2 separate regions of the Homo sapiens genome follow, and region 1 is linked to region 2. The links are contacts of gene promoters, found by promoter capture Hi-C in human tissues and cell types (Jung and others, 2019). All regions are on one chromosome and are shown on one strand. Each heading gives the region's core, a stretch centred on a gene start or on the middle of the fragment in contact. The rest is flanking DNA. Distances are from core to core; before and after follow the strand shown.

Evidence for each region. The method cuts DNA at HindIII sites, captures the fragments that hold promoters and counts their contacts. A contact is called where the count stands out against the background at its distance.
Region 1: a fragment that was not itself captured here is called in contact with the fragment with the promoter of FBLL1 in region 2 in 2 of the 25 tissues and cell types used here (H1 embryonic stem cells and spleen).

The regions. Positions count from the first base shown.
Region 1 is chr5:168,666,505-168,673,708 of GRCh38, reverse strand. SLIT3 (slit guidance ligand 3) reads left to right here. Exons shown (of 36, transcript NM_003062.4): 33 at 378-532; 34 at 2,226-2,511; 35 at 3,718-3,926; 36 at 7,020-7,204. Among named protein-coding and RNA genes, the nearest start is that of SLIT3-AS2, 37 kb to the left of the region's middle. RefSeq lists an enhancer at 1,800-2,375. The HindIII fragment of the contact is 8,529 bases long and covers 1,667-7,204 here.
Region 2 is chr5:168,526,774-168,533,865 of GRCh38, reverse strand. It overlaps FBLL1 (fibrillarin like 1), which reads right to left and starts at 4,561. Exons shown (of 1, transcript NM_001355274.2): 1 at 3,232-4,561. The coding sequence starts at 4,361. The coding sequence ends at 3,357. RefSeq lists enhancers at 2,688-2,857, 3,713-4,254 and a silencer at 5,108-5,402. The HindIII fragment of the contact is 8,115 bases long and covers 2,008-7,092 here.

The DNA.
Region 1 (7,204 bases), core at 4,682-7,181, 140 kb before region 2:
ATGTTAAATTCACCAAAGTTGACAACTGCACTGTGCTTATATAAGAGAATATCTCTGTCCTTAGGAAATGCACACTGAGGTATCTAAGGATAAAGGGCTGTAATGTATGTAACTTACCTTTAAATGGTTCAGAAATGTGTGTGTGTATACATAAAATGCACAGAGAAAACCATAAGCACATTGGAGTAATGGGAGAAACTGGGTAATAAGCATCTTCTGTACTGTTTTTATTTTTGCAACTTATGTAAGTTTAAAGTTATTTCCAAATAAAAAGTAAAACAAAATGTAAGCAATGCAGGTCAAGTCCACAGCACAGGGCCCAGCCATGGAAGGCCCTTAGTGAACTCTCCGGCTTTCTCCCCTTCTCTACTGGCCAGTGTGGAGACAGTGAATGATGGGCAGTTTCACAGTGTGGAGCTGGTGACGCTAAACCAGACCCTGAACCTAGTAGTGGACAAAGGAACTCCAAAGAGCCTGGGGAAGCTCCAGAAGCAGCCAGCAGTGGGCATCAACAGCCCCCTCTACCTTGGAGGTAATGCCCTCTTTCCCTACCACCTCTACCTCCCTCTGGCCCTCTGTGCTCCAGTACAGAAACCCAGGCCACTGCCAAAGCCAATCAGGGAAGGCTTCCTGGAGGAAGGGACAACGAAGCTGATCTCTAAAAGGTGAATAAGCACTAGCCAGGCCATGGAGGAAAGAGAATGTGGGACAGGTGCTTGGAAAGGAAAGAGAACAGGACTCCTGGAAACTACACGTTGTGACGGGCAAGGGTGAGAAGGGGGAGGCAGGAGATGGAAGCAGGGTCTAGGCTCTGCTGAAGTCTGCCAGCTTCAGGTCATATTCCCTCTGCTCTGCCACCTCCTCAAACCCTCGGAGGTTCAATTAATGAATGTAGAAGAATTTGAGATTAAAATCAAAGGCCAAAAATGGAAGTAGGCCAGGTGCAGTGGCTCACACCTGTAATCCCAACACTTTGGGAGGCTGAGGTGGGAGGATCACTTGAGCCCAGGAGTTGGAGGCCAGCCTAGGCAACACAGTGAGACCTCATCTCTACAAAATATTTAAATTAGCTGGGCACAGTAGTGAGCACCTGTAGTCCCAGCTACTTTGGAGGGTGAGGCAGGGGGATTGCTTGAGCCTGGGAGGTTGGGGCTGCAGTGAGCCATGATTGTGCCACTGCCCTGCAACCTGGGTGACAGAGTGAGACCTTGTCTTTAAAACAACAACAAAACACAAAAAAGTAGCCATCAGTTAGGCAGACTCTGGGCCTGAAATGCAGCCCCTGCACTGATAGTTCTCAAGGGGTTAAGTGTAAAAAAAGCTACCAAAACTGCTCGTTCAATCCTAAGATTCCCAAGACTTTACCCAGAGTCCACCTGCAGAGACTAGCACGGGCCCAGAAGAGGGTGTTGTTAATGGGTGGTTCAGATGTAGGGAGGCCAGGGAAAGCTCTGTGCCGAGGGCAGCCCCAGAAGGGACACCACTTATCCCTGGAGGAGGACCGTGCCCTGTGCCCCACCTGCTCCAGGTGCACCCAGAACGGAACTGGGTGCCCTGCTTCCAGGCCAGTCCCAGGCTCTCAACTATAGAAGGTGGGCAGGGAATGGTGTAGAAGGGGAGCGAAAATACAAATTATTGAAAAGCAAATTAGGTCTTTACTAACAGTCTCTTGAAGATCCTGAGAAGAGGGGTACACCGCACATAAGGCAGCAAACTGGTCTAAAAACCCTGAACCCCAAAGTTTCGTTGATCAAGCAGCTCCCCAAAACCTTATCTTATCTCCTCAGCTGTAGCTCACCTGCCCTGGATTCTCTTGTGAGGCCTGGATCAAAGGGCTGAGGAGCCTGGTGGGGACAGCAGGTTATTTGGTGCACTTGCCTATTGGGGGGAACGGTCTCCTCAGTTCAGCCAGTGGGATCATAGGGCAATGGGTGACCAGATCATCTCATTTTTTCTAGGGAAGTCCAAGATACAAATTTTTATGGGAAATTTTCTAATATTACATATTGGCAACAAATTCACGTTTTTTTAAGGAGTCCCAGTGCAGGACCAAGGATGCACGTCCCTGTATGGAGGAGGTCCGAGGTTTTGGCCCGTTAACCTCGTTTGAACAGCAGAGGCCCAGAGTTCTGGCCATGAATGTGTGAAAAGTGCTTTTTCGCTCTGAGGACAGCAGGGTGGCAGGGGAGGGTCTTCAGGCCACTGTCCTGGCTCCCCTCCCACAGGCATCCCCACCTCCACCGGCCTCTCTGCCTTGCGCCAGGGCACGGACCGGCCTCTAGGCGGCTTCCACGGATGCATCCATGAGGTGCGCATCAACAACGAGCTGCAGGACTTCAAGGCCCTCCCACCACAGTCCCTGGGGGTGTCACCAGGCTGCAAGTCCTGCACCGTGTGCAAGCACGGCCTGTGCCGCTCCGTGGAGAAGGACAGCGTGGTGTGCGAGTGCCGCCCAGGCTGGACCGGCCCACTCTGCGATCAGGAGGCCCGGGACCCCTGCCTCGGCCACAGGTCAGTGTCCCAGGAGCCCTGGCTGTGTGCTCGAGCTCCCAGAATGGCCTCAGTCCCTACCCCACCTGAGAAATAGGCACTACTGGAGGCTGGAGGAGTTGCAGTCAGACCGCAGATAGGATCTGTGTAAGTGTAACTGCTTAAGAGGTCAAGAGGCTGAGCTTACACATCTGAGCAGCCAGACCTGCTTGGAGGGATCAGCATAAGAGGGCCCTGCTCAAAACACTAGTCTCTGCCAGGTGGCCTTTAGAACCTGTCCAGAGCCACAGTGAGCCCCCACTGTCTCTGTGGGAATTAAAAAAGGCACCCACATGGGCAGACTCAGCCTGTGCAAGGCACCAGGTGTATATAACCACACATCAAACCACATTTAATAGTTTAAGCAACTACTCATTCAACAAAGATTTACTGAGGTCCTACTACGTGCCAGGCCTCATGCTAAATATAGGAGATCCAGTACTGTCAGTGTTAAGAAACCTGAATCAGCCAAAACTAACACCAGAGCCAACACTGGAAATGTGGTTGGCTAAACCAGTCAGGAAATGATTTTTTGGATCAGGAATAAGGGACAGCTATACAGGGTTTGAGCTTCTTGTGTTGCTCTTGAGCATATGTGTGTGTGTGTTTGACTCTATAATACGGATCCTGGCTCTGCATGTCATCTCAATAGGGGCAGTGGTGCATCATGATTCAGAATATAGGCTTTACCTTCATTTTTTTCCATGGGTGAAATGTACTGCATAGGAGCAGCAGACAAGAGGTTATGATGGAAATTCAGAGCAATACTGGGTGTAAAGCACTTAACACAATTCCTGGTACATAGCCAGTGGTACCTGCTGGTAGTAGTGGGGTGGTAGTAATTCTTATTTAAGATGGTAAAGCAATTAAAATGTTTAGAGAATGGCTAGATTCTTTCAAGCAGTTGTTTGCTACTTGGCTGCATGAGGTGTGTGTGTAAATCAGCAAGCCAGCCTCTGCTGTGGTCACAGCTCACAGTGGACACTGGGTGACACTCGCAGGCTTCTGGCTGGTTGGCCAGGGGAACCAAGGTGGTTAAGAAAAGAGATGCTCAGCCTAGGAAACAGAGAAAGCTATTGGACTGTACTCAGCTCCGGGTCCCCTGGTCCCTGGCTGGGTGGACAGAGGGAGTCCCCAGCAGCACCAACTCTGATCCAGTTCCCTTCTCATCCTCCTCTCTGCCCCTAGATGCCACCATGGAAAATGTGTGGCAACTGGGACCTCATACATGTGCAAGTGTGCCGAGGGCTATGGAGGGGACTTGTGTGACAACAAGAATGACTCTGCCAATGCCTGCTCAGCCTTCAAGTGTCACCATGGGCAGTGCCACATCTCAGACCAAGGGGAGCCCTACTGCCTGTGCCAGCCCGGCTTTAGCGGCGAGCACTGCCAACAAGGTGGGTCTACTGTGCCTGTGGGAGGGAGGAAGTGGGGGTCAGAGTTGGACTTCACATCCAGATCACCTCAGTTCCAGTTCTGGCTGTGCCACTTAAAGGCTGCATGACCTTGGTTCAGTCACTTTCTGAGCCTCAATTCCCTCAACTTGAAAACGGAGGCAATACTATACCTTCCTGTATCAGTTATCTAGTGCTGCATAACAACTTAGCCCCAAACCATAGCAGTTCAAAACCACAAAAAACATTTTTTTTAGCCTACATTGTTCCTGTGGGTTGGGAATTCAGAAAGAGCGTAGCTGGGATCTCTCAGGGTTGCATTCTACACAGCCATGGCTGCAGTTCTCTGTAGGCTAACCCAAGGCAGCAGGATATGCTTCCAATGTGCTGCACTCCCATGGCGCTGGGTGTTGGCGGGAGGTCCCAGTTCTGCCCTGCATGAGTCACTACACAGGCTCTTTGAGGGTCCTTGCGCCAGGGCAGCTGGCATGTCCCAGAGTGAATGGTCCAGAAGAGAGTAAGCCACTTGTCTTGTATGACCTACAATTGGAAGTCACTCACACCATCATTTCCACCACATTGCATTGGTTACATCAGTCAGGTACATTCAGTGAGGGAGGGGACCACATAAAGGGCATCAATACCAGAAGGTGGTAGTCACTGGGGGCAATCTTGGAGGCTAGCTACTGTGCTTCTTTATAGGGTTGTTGGGAGGAGTACGTGAGATGTTGAGATGTAAAGTCAGAAGCAACATTGTCACGATGAAGGCCAAACTGTCATTTAGAATCTGCATGACCTTGACTATCCTGGCCAACATGGTGAAACCCTGTCTCTACTAAAAATACAAAAATTAGCTGGGCATCATGGCGGTCGCCTGTAATCCCAGCTATGCTGGAGGCGAGGCAAGAGAATCATTTGAACCCAGGAGGCGGAGGTTACAGTCAGCCAAGATCAACCTGGGTGACAGAGTGAGAGCCTGTCTCAACTCTGCATGACATTGAGCAGCATACTTGTGGTTCACTTCCTCATCTAGATAGGGCCAGGAGTGGTGGCTCACACCTGGAATCCTAGCATTTTGGGAGGCCGAGGTGCAAGGATTGCATGAGCTCAGGAGCTTGAAGCTGCAATGAATGCACCACTGCACTCCAGCCCAGGTGACAGAGACAGACCCTGTCTCCAAGAAAAGACAAAAGTGCAGATAACTCATACTGCCAAAGTTAAGATTCTAAAGCATGGACTTTTTAAAGATGAAACAAGTGTAGAAAATGGTCCTCAGTGGACCTCTGCAGGGAGAACACATGAGCAGTCTGGATGGTTCTTTTCTCCTCTTTTCCAGCTGTTGGCCCTTGAGATGCCATGCCTTCAAAACTAATGAAACCCTAGCCACTCAGAGTGGCCCCCTGACATTGACCAGCACCACTGACATCACCTGGGAGTCACCTGGGGCTCCCAGGCCCCACCCCAGCCCTTTTGAGTCAGAACCTGCATTTTGCAATGATTCGCATATGTATCCAAGCTGATGGCATTGCTCCACAGCCTCCATCCAACCCTCTTGCCCTTACTGGGTCAGCAGAAGCCAGTTCTTTGGTCTGACCTAAACAAAGGAAATTATATTAATATTAAAATGGTTGTCTTACCTTGGGGGATCTTTCTCCTGCATGGACACTGAGAAGTCTTGCTCCCTGCCACCAGGATCCCAGGCAGTCCACCCCGTGCCTTGAGGACTTTTCCACATTTTATACCTACACGAAATACTATTCTTAACCAAAACTCATTTTTAAAATGTTATTAAATAGCTTATTCTGAAATAATTTCAGACTTACAGAAAAACTGTCAGGACAGTATAAACAGCTTAATCCCTTCACCCCAGTCATTAGCATGTTGCCCCATCTGCACTCCCTGTCTCTCCCCATGTTATACACATGCACATGCACACATTGTCATTAACCTCTTTCTAATCCTTTTAACAATCTCATAATTTTAAAGACTTTTAACAACACCTGAAGCTTTAAAATGCATAAAGCCCTTTCTCCTTCACAATCGCCTCTGGTGCCCGTAACAGCCTGGGAGTTGCTGGAAGGACAGGTAAATGTGTTACCACTTTGCAGACACGGAAACTGTGACTTGCTTGTCAAGGGTCAAGGGTCATGGCTCCCTTCCTCAAGTGCCTTGCTGCAGACATTCTCCCACTGTAGTGAGGACAGTAGAGGGGTGGAAATGAAAAGCTGGGTCAGGGTCCAGAGTGTTTAAGCAGATACAGGGGTGCCCTTTCCCAGCCTGCAGTTATTTCTAGGCCTTCTGGAAAAGCTCATCGCAACACCTGCTTCTTATTCAGATATCAACTCCAGCTCATTTCCCAGAGAAGCCTCCCTGGCCCCTGGGCCAGGTCAAATGCCTTTTGAATACAAATGTCTTATAGCATACAAAAACATATACTGTATGTTCTTGTATGAACATCTTCCCTTTCTTTATAGCATCTACCTCAGTTTCTTTATTAAATATATTCACTTAAATAGTATCTAGACTCTAGGCCAAGAGAGACAGACTATTGGGAGTGGTAGTGACTGGGGCAAACTGGAGATTGCCTGCCCCATCTAAAGCACTCAGCTTCAGCCATCACTGCAGTGCAGGGTTGCAGGCTCAGCTCTGCCAGACCTCCTTGTTTTCAAGGAAGGCAGAAATCCAGATTTTCAGGTGAAATCTCCTGCTTTTTGAATGTTGACATTTAATTAATTTTTAGGCACATGTAGGGTGATCCAAATTGGTCTGGGGTCAGGATTTGGCCCACAGTCTATCAGTTTGCGTCATCTAGTTTTAGTTTTGACTTTAGGTTTCTTGAAGGAAGGGACCAAGCCTGCTTTTGTCATCATTATATCCTCACGGCTTAGGTGTAAGCCTGTCAGAGAGCCTGGTACAGGAAAGGCACCTGTTTGTAAAATAGATGGGTGGATGGAGGGGAGGGTAGGCAGATGGATGAGTGAATAAATTCTTACAGTCTTCAGAGCACAAGTATTTCAAAGCAGCCTACCTGGGAACTGCTCATGGTCCTGCTGGCCACCTAGACCACCAATGCCCTGACTTCTATGCCCTCTGCAGAGAATCCGTGCCTGGGACAAGTAGTCCGAGAGGTGATCCGCCGCCAGAAAGGTTATGCATCATGTGCCACAGCCTCCAAGGTGCCCATCATGGAATGTCGTGGGGGCTGTGGGCCCCAGTGCTGCCAGCCCACCCGCAGCAAGCGGCGGAAATACGTCTTCCAGTGCACGGACGGCTCCTCGTTT
Region 2 (7,092 bases), core at 3,312-5,811:
TGTGTCCCAGAAAATTCACAAATTGAAGCCCCAATCCCCAGTGTTACTATATTTGGGGATAGGGCCCTAAGGAGGTAATTAAGGTTAAAAGAGGTCCTAAGAGTAGGATCCTAATCCAGCAGGATTGGTATCCTTCTAAACAGGGGAAGAAACACCAAAGAGCTCTCTCTTTCTCACTGTGTGTGAACAGAGGAAAGGCCACATATATGACACAGCAAGAAGGTGGCCGATTACAAGCCAGGAAGAGAGTCCTCACCAGAAACTGAATTCCAGCACCTTGATATTGGACTTCTAGCCTCCATCCAGAATAGTGAGAAAATGAGTATCTGTTGTTTAAGCCACCTAGCATGTAGTATTTTGTTACAACAGCCTGAGAAGACTAATATACCTAGAGACCCAAATGTAAAGGCTTCTTGGAACCCAAGCTGATAGTCACTGAAGCATTCCTGGCTCTGAGCAGGTCTGTTAACCAGGGTCACTGCTACTTCTAGGTTTCTTGGGACCCAAGGCCCACTGGAGTTACAGTCCGATAATTTTTTTTTTTTTTTTTAGACAGAGTCTCGCAGTGACATGATCTCAGCTCACTGGAACCTCCACCTCCCAGGTTCAAACGATTCTTCTGCCTCGGCCTCCCAAGAAGTTAGGATTACAGTTGCCCGCCACCAGCTATTTTTTGTATTTTTAGTAGAGATGGGGTTTCATATGTTGACCAGGCTAGTCTCGACTCAAGGACTCAAGTTATCCATGTGCCTTGGCCTCCCAAAGTGCTGGGATCACAGGCATGAGCCACTGTGCCCAGACTATAGTCCCATTCTTTTCCCTGCCATCATCCTCTAAAACCAGGTTCCAGCTCCCTTCCTGTATTCCCTTGGCCCTTATTCCTATATTTTTCCTGGTACTCACCATGTCATTCCATTGGCTCAGGAACTCATCTGCAATGCAGGGAAATTCTTCAGGAGATTGTTTTGTTGCCATTTCCTCATGAATGGTTCCCTCTTTGAGAAGCTTCAGACATGACTTTAAATTTCACTTGCGGCAGGAGGGGCAGGGAATGGGAGTTCCCATGCCAAGGAAGGAGGTAGAGTTTCCCCTGCTTCATCCCCCATGCTGGGGGGAAAAACCTTTAAGGAGCAATCAAGAGCTCCTTTATGGAGCCCATCTGGCTCTGAGGAGGGGCTGGGTCATGGGCCTCAGCTGCTGCAGAGCCCCTCCCTCCTGAGTACCCAGCTGCTTCTGTCTTCCCCTAGTGAGGAAACAGTTCCTGTTCCCAGGGAGTCCACCCCAGCCTCAGGGCTTCATCACAGCAACTAATAAATTAGCCTAGGATTGGAGAGAGGGCTTTTCAAGGCAACAGAACCAGCACAGACTTCAGTGAAAATGACATAGGTTTTGGAGTCAGACTAACAAAGCTGTGATTTCTGGCTGTGAGCCTTTCTGGGGGATCTTAAACCAGGCACTTTCATCTCTGAACTGCAGTGTTCTTATATGCTAAATAGGAAAAGTGATCCTGGCTTTGCAGGGTTGTAATGAAGATTTCCATTGTTTATGGAAATAGACATGTACGGCATTCACTCTCTTCTTCCTGAGTCAGTCTTGCTGATACATCTGAACTGTAATTCCCTTTCTGAATTTTGGGGTGGCGTAGGATGGGGGAGTGGTGAAAGAGTGGCAGCCTTTTCAAAAGTCTGATTTGGACCAGGTGCCATAGCTCACGCCTCTAATCCCAGTGTGGGAGTCTGAGGCAGGAGGATTTCTTGAAGCAAGGAGTTCAAGACCAGCCTCGGCAACAAAGCGAGACACTGTTTCTCCACAAACATTTTTTTTTTAAATTAGCCAGGTGTGGTAGGCTGAGGCAGGAAGATCACTTAAGCCTAGGAGTTCAAGGCTGCAGTGAGCCATGATTGCGCCACTGCATTCCAGCCTTGGCGACAGAGCAAGACCTGTCTCAAATAAAATAAATAAAATAAAACAAAAATAAAAAGTCTGATTTATCCTTTGTTGTTGTTCAAGAAGTATGCCCTCAGAAAAAGCAGACTAACCACAATTGCTGCCCAAGCACATCTTTAGAAAGGCAAATCCACCCTCCAAATGATACATTAGTGAGCAATCATTCAAAGACTAAATGTTGATGTGGGTCTTTTTGGCAGTTGGGAGTGTGTATGCATGCATGCATGAATGAATGAAAAGTCTGGCTTGGAGGGATTTACTGGGCCTTTGGGGCATTCTCAGCTTTCCTCGGATTACCCACTCTCCCTTCCCTTTGGGCTGCTTTGGAGAGAGACTGCGAGGTACTGAGACCAGCAACTTGGGAAGTGCAGGACATGCCTTGCAAAGACAGATACTTTCTGGGAGTAATTTGTCTGCCTGTTCTGCAGACACTTGGTGATACCACTTTGGGTATGTTATGCCCTGTAGTAGAGACAGTCTGCTAGCTAGACCCACATCTGCCCCGCATCTTGTTTTGCTATTGTGAAACCAAACAAAGGGGTAGCCCGGGGGGGACAGGGGAGGGCGAAAGAACACAATAAGGTCACAGGGCCCTGCTCTAAGTGTGTCCCTGTGCACATGCCATAGGGGTTGGGGACCAGAGACAAGATCCCCCTGGTGCTGAGGAAACAGCAATGGATTTAGAGCCCCGAAGACTGGCATTTAAGTTCTACCTCCTTACTGGCTATGTACGTTTGGGCAAAATAGTTTACCTTCAGAAGCCCTGTTGCTTCACATGTAATATGCAAGTGCTAACAAAGCCATCTCAGGGCTGGTGTGAGGAATAAATTTAACATTTATTTATTATTCACTTTAACAGTGAATGCAAAAGGGCTTAGTTGAAGAGTAAAATACTAAAAACCTATTGTGGTTAAGACTTTGGCTGTGAGTCAGATGATTGGTGTGTTTGACTATATTATTGTCCACCAACATTCAGTGTTTTTCCCGAGTCAGGCTGGGTCATGTGACTTGGCCAAATGTGAGCAGAAGTGCCCCATCAGTTCCAAGGGGACATTTAAAAGCTTTTATTAGCAATTCCGCAGCTCTCTTTCCTCTGCCCTAGGGATGGGGGGAGCATGTGTGAAAATGGGGCCCTGGGGAGTTGGAGACCTGAGTGATTAGAATGAGCACAGCTCCCAGGCTACTGCTGGATGGGCCCCTTATACCAGCCGGTTTAGGCCACTGGGATTTGGGGGTTGATTGTTACTGCAGCAAAACCTAGCCTGGCATCACCATACAGATAGGTGCCGTTTCTTTATGCAGTTTAATAGAAAAACAACAAAACAAAACACTCACAAAGAAAACACACAGAAAATAATAGCAAACACAACGCAGCCTTGGGGAGATGGCAGGCGAGCCTGAGCTGGGTGCTATTTGCTGCTGCTCTTGGGAAGAGGTCGGTAGACCCCGACCACCACAGCGTGGTCCCGCTCATAGGGCTCCAGGGTCAGCTGCTCTTGAGGCTTCAAGTTCTCCTGCTGCAACTTCCTCACCTCAGAAGCAAACACAGCCTCGGCGGATGCGGTGGAGTCGATGCAGTTGGCCTTGATGGAGATGAGAAAGTGGCCCCCATTGCGCAGGAAGGTGTGGGCGTTCAGGGCCACGATGCGGGACTGGTCCGGCTGGGCCACGTCGGCGAAGATCACGTCCACCATCCCGATGAGCATGCGGTACTTGAGCGGGTGCCGCGCGTCCTCCAGGACCGGAATGATGTTGGTGCGCTTCTTGGCCACGTTGACCAGATCGCGGCCGGCGCGGTGGGAGAACTCGACGGCGTAGACCAGGCCGTCTGGGCCAATGATGTCGGAGACATGGGAGACGGTGGTGCCCGACGCGGCGCCCAGGTACAGCACCTTGGACTTGGGCTTGATGTGGATCTGGTCCACCCCGCCCAGGATGGCCGCGGCCAGCTTAGAGCGGAACGGGTTCCACGTGCGGTACTCCTGCTTCACGCCGCCCTCGGTCACCGTGACGCGCCTCTCGCCGTACACAGACTGGCCCGGCACCATGTTCAGCGTGACCAGCGCGTCCTCCGCCCCGCGGTAGATGAAGACGCCCTCGTGCCGGTGCGGCTCCACCGACACCACCATGGCGCCCTTCCTGCGGCGGCTCTTGCTCTTGGCCACGCCGCCCCGCCGCTGTCCACCGCCGCCGCGATCCTTGCCGTCGCCGCCGCCGCGCCCCCGGCCCCGGCCGCCCCCGCCGAAGCCGCGCGCCCGCGCCCCGAAGCCGCCCTTGCCCCCCTGGCCGCCGCCGTCGCCCCCGCCGCCCTTGCCCGCGCCGCCGCCGCCGCCTCGGCCCCCGCCCCAGCTGCCCCAGCCGCCGCCCCCGCGGCCGCCCCCACCGCCCCCGCGCGAGCTCGCGGCCGACTTCATGGCACGCACCGGGGCGGGTGCCGTGGGTTACCGGTGCCTCGGGGCGGGTGTCAGGGGGCTCTGGTGGCTCTGGGTGGTCGTCCCGGCGGTTGTCCGCGGGTTTAGCAGCGGAGGCGGGCGGCGGGCGGCGGGCGGCGGGGGCAGGACGGGCTCTACCGCAGTGCCCGCATCCCGGAGCCGCCCCTTGACGCAGCGGCTGTGGCGCGATTGCATCACACCCGTCCCCGCGACCCTGCGGCCCGGAAGCCCCGCTTCCCAGCCCGCGTGCAGACGCAGCCTGCTCCTCTTCGCTCACCCTGCCCCTTCCCCATCTCCCGCCTTCCCAGGGATCCCTGGCACTTCCCTGGGCCACAGGGACGGGGGCGTCTCTGCTGCAGGAGAGGGGGAGGTAAGCATCAGCGTCGGTCCTGGCTGTGCCACCAGTTCTGGGACTATTGATCAGCAAGGAAGTGTTGTTGATTCTTCAGTGTGAATGGGGATACACAGAGAGCCAAAATGTCATGTTCATCCTCGAAGTCTAGTCTATGCTTCAAAGTCACTCTCTAAATCTGCAGCATTTTCTTGAGGAAAGAAAGAAAAAGAGAAAAAGAAAGAAAGAGAGAGAAAGAAAAGAGAGAGAGGGAGAGGAGAAGAAAAGAAAAGAATAATTGGGCAGCACCAAGGGCAGCAACGAGAAGAAAAGAAAAAAAGAAAAGAACAGAAAGAAAATAAAAGAATAACTCGGCACCACCAATGGCCCCAAGGCCGCAACGCAGAGGCTTTAGGGTTTAGTCAGCACCAGGGACAGCGACAGCAGTTGGGGCCCCCGTTTTGGCTACTGCTAGGGGCTTTGGGAACCACACAAGAGCTGGGGAAAGTAGGATAGGTGGTGAAACAACTGGCCAGCCTCCCGTTAGTTGAATTAAGTGTCTACTCGAGAGAGAGAGAGAGAGAGACAACGCGCACCTGAAGATCGGAGCATTTACTGAACACCTGGTATGTGCAGTATGACTTCCGTTCCATCCTGGACCACAGCTCTTCCCGTCTCATACTCATGGACGACAGTGCCAGGTCTGATTTTCCCTGAGGACTGGAGTGTCTCCTTAATGGGGACCAGAGTTTTATACACTGGAATGTGAACAAGGGATCAGTGAGTGAAATGTATGATTCCTGAGGTTGAATGGTTCACATAAAATACTCTACTTAGAGGTTTCCATTCTTGCTATAAGGTGAATATTTTCCAAAATGATGAACTACACTTGGTGTCTGTGAGGGTTAATTTTATGTGTCAACTTTACTGGGCCATGGGATGCCCAGATATTTGGTCAAATAGTATTCTGAGTGTTTCTGTGAGGGTGTTTTTTGATGAGATTAACATTTAAATTGGTATATTGAGTAAAGCTGATTGCCGTCTACGATGTGGCTGGGCCTCATCTAATCAGTTGAAGGCAGAAATAAAGCAAAATGCTGACCTTCCCCACGGAAGAGAGAATTCTCCTGCCCAAGGGCCTTTCAACTGGCACATCAGCTCTTTCTGCCTGACAACCTTTGGACTGGGACATTGGCCCTGCGGATTTTGGACCTGCTGGTCTCCACAATCACATGAGCCAATATATATCCTATATATACACACATATATATATCCTACAGGCCTGTGTCTTTGGAGAACCTTGAATAATAGAGATCCTGAGACAAAGCCTTGAGTCCAATTGGTTTGTGAGGTGATCCCAGGAAGCACATGTTGGGGAGGCAAAAATGAGATAGAGAAGATAGAAAGGTTAAGAAAGAACTGGGCACAGTGCCTCACACCTGTAATCCCAGCACTTTGGGAGGCCAAGGTGGGAGGATTGATTGAGCCCACGAGTTCAAGACCAGTCCTAGCATGATAGCAAGACCCTGTCTCTACAAAAATAAACAAGACTTAGCCAGGTGTCATGGTGTGTACCTGTAGTCACTGTAGTACCTGTAGTCACTGTAGTACCTGTAGTACCTCAGCTACTGAGGAGGCTGAGCTGGAGGGGTCGCTTGAGCCTGGGAGATCAAGGCTGCAGTGAGCTGAACTCACACCACTACACTCCAGCTTAGGTGACAGAGGGAGACCCTGTCTCAAAAAAAAAAAAAAAAAAAAAAAGAGGGTAGATTAATGAGTAGATGACCACAGTGGACAATGGGAGCTCAATTGCTGTGAGTATTCTGAGAAACTGTGTGGAAGGCATCTCAGAATTGTTCTACTGCAGGTTGGAGGCTGGGGCATTAATCCACTGTCTTAATTTGTTTCTATACCTGAGACTGGGTAATTTATAAAGAAAAGGGCTTTATTTTTTCTTTTTTTATTCTAAGATAGGGTATCACTCTGTCACCCAAGCTGAGTGCAGTGGCACAATCATGGCTATTGCAGCCTTGATCTCCCAGGCTCAAGCAATCCTCCCACCTCAGCCTCCTGAGTAGTTGGGACTACAGGTGTGTGCCACCACACCAGGCTAAAATTTTATTCTTTATAGAGATGGAGCCTCACTATGTTGCCCAGGCTTGTCTCAAACTCCTGGACTCAAGCAGTTCTCCTGTTTCAGTCTCCTAAAGTGCTGGGATTACAGGTGTGAGCCACAGTGGCCAGCCAGGTTTCTTTCTATATAGGTATAAACCATCATGCCTGGCAATTTTTTTTTTTTTTTTTTTTACTTTTTGTAGAGATGAGACCTCATTATGTTGCCCAAGCTGGTCTCCAACTCCTGGCCTCAAGCCATCCTCCTGC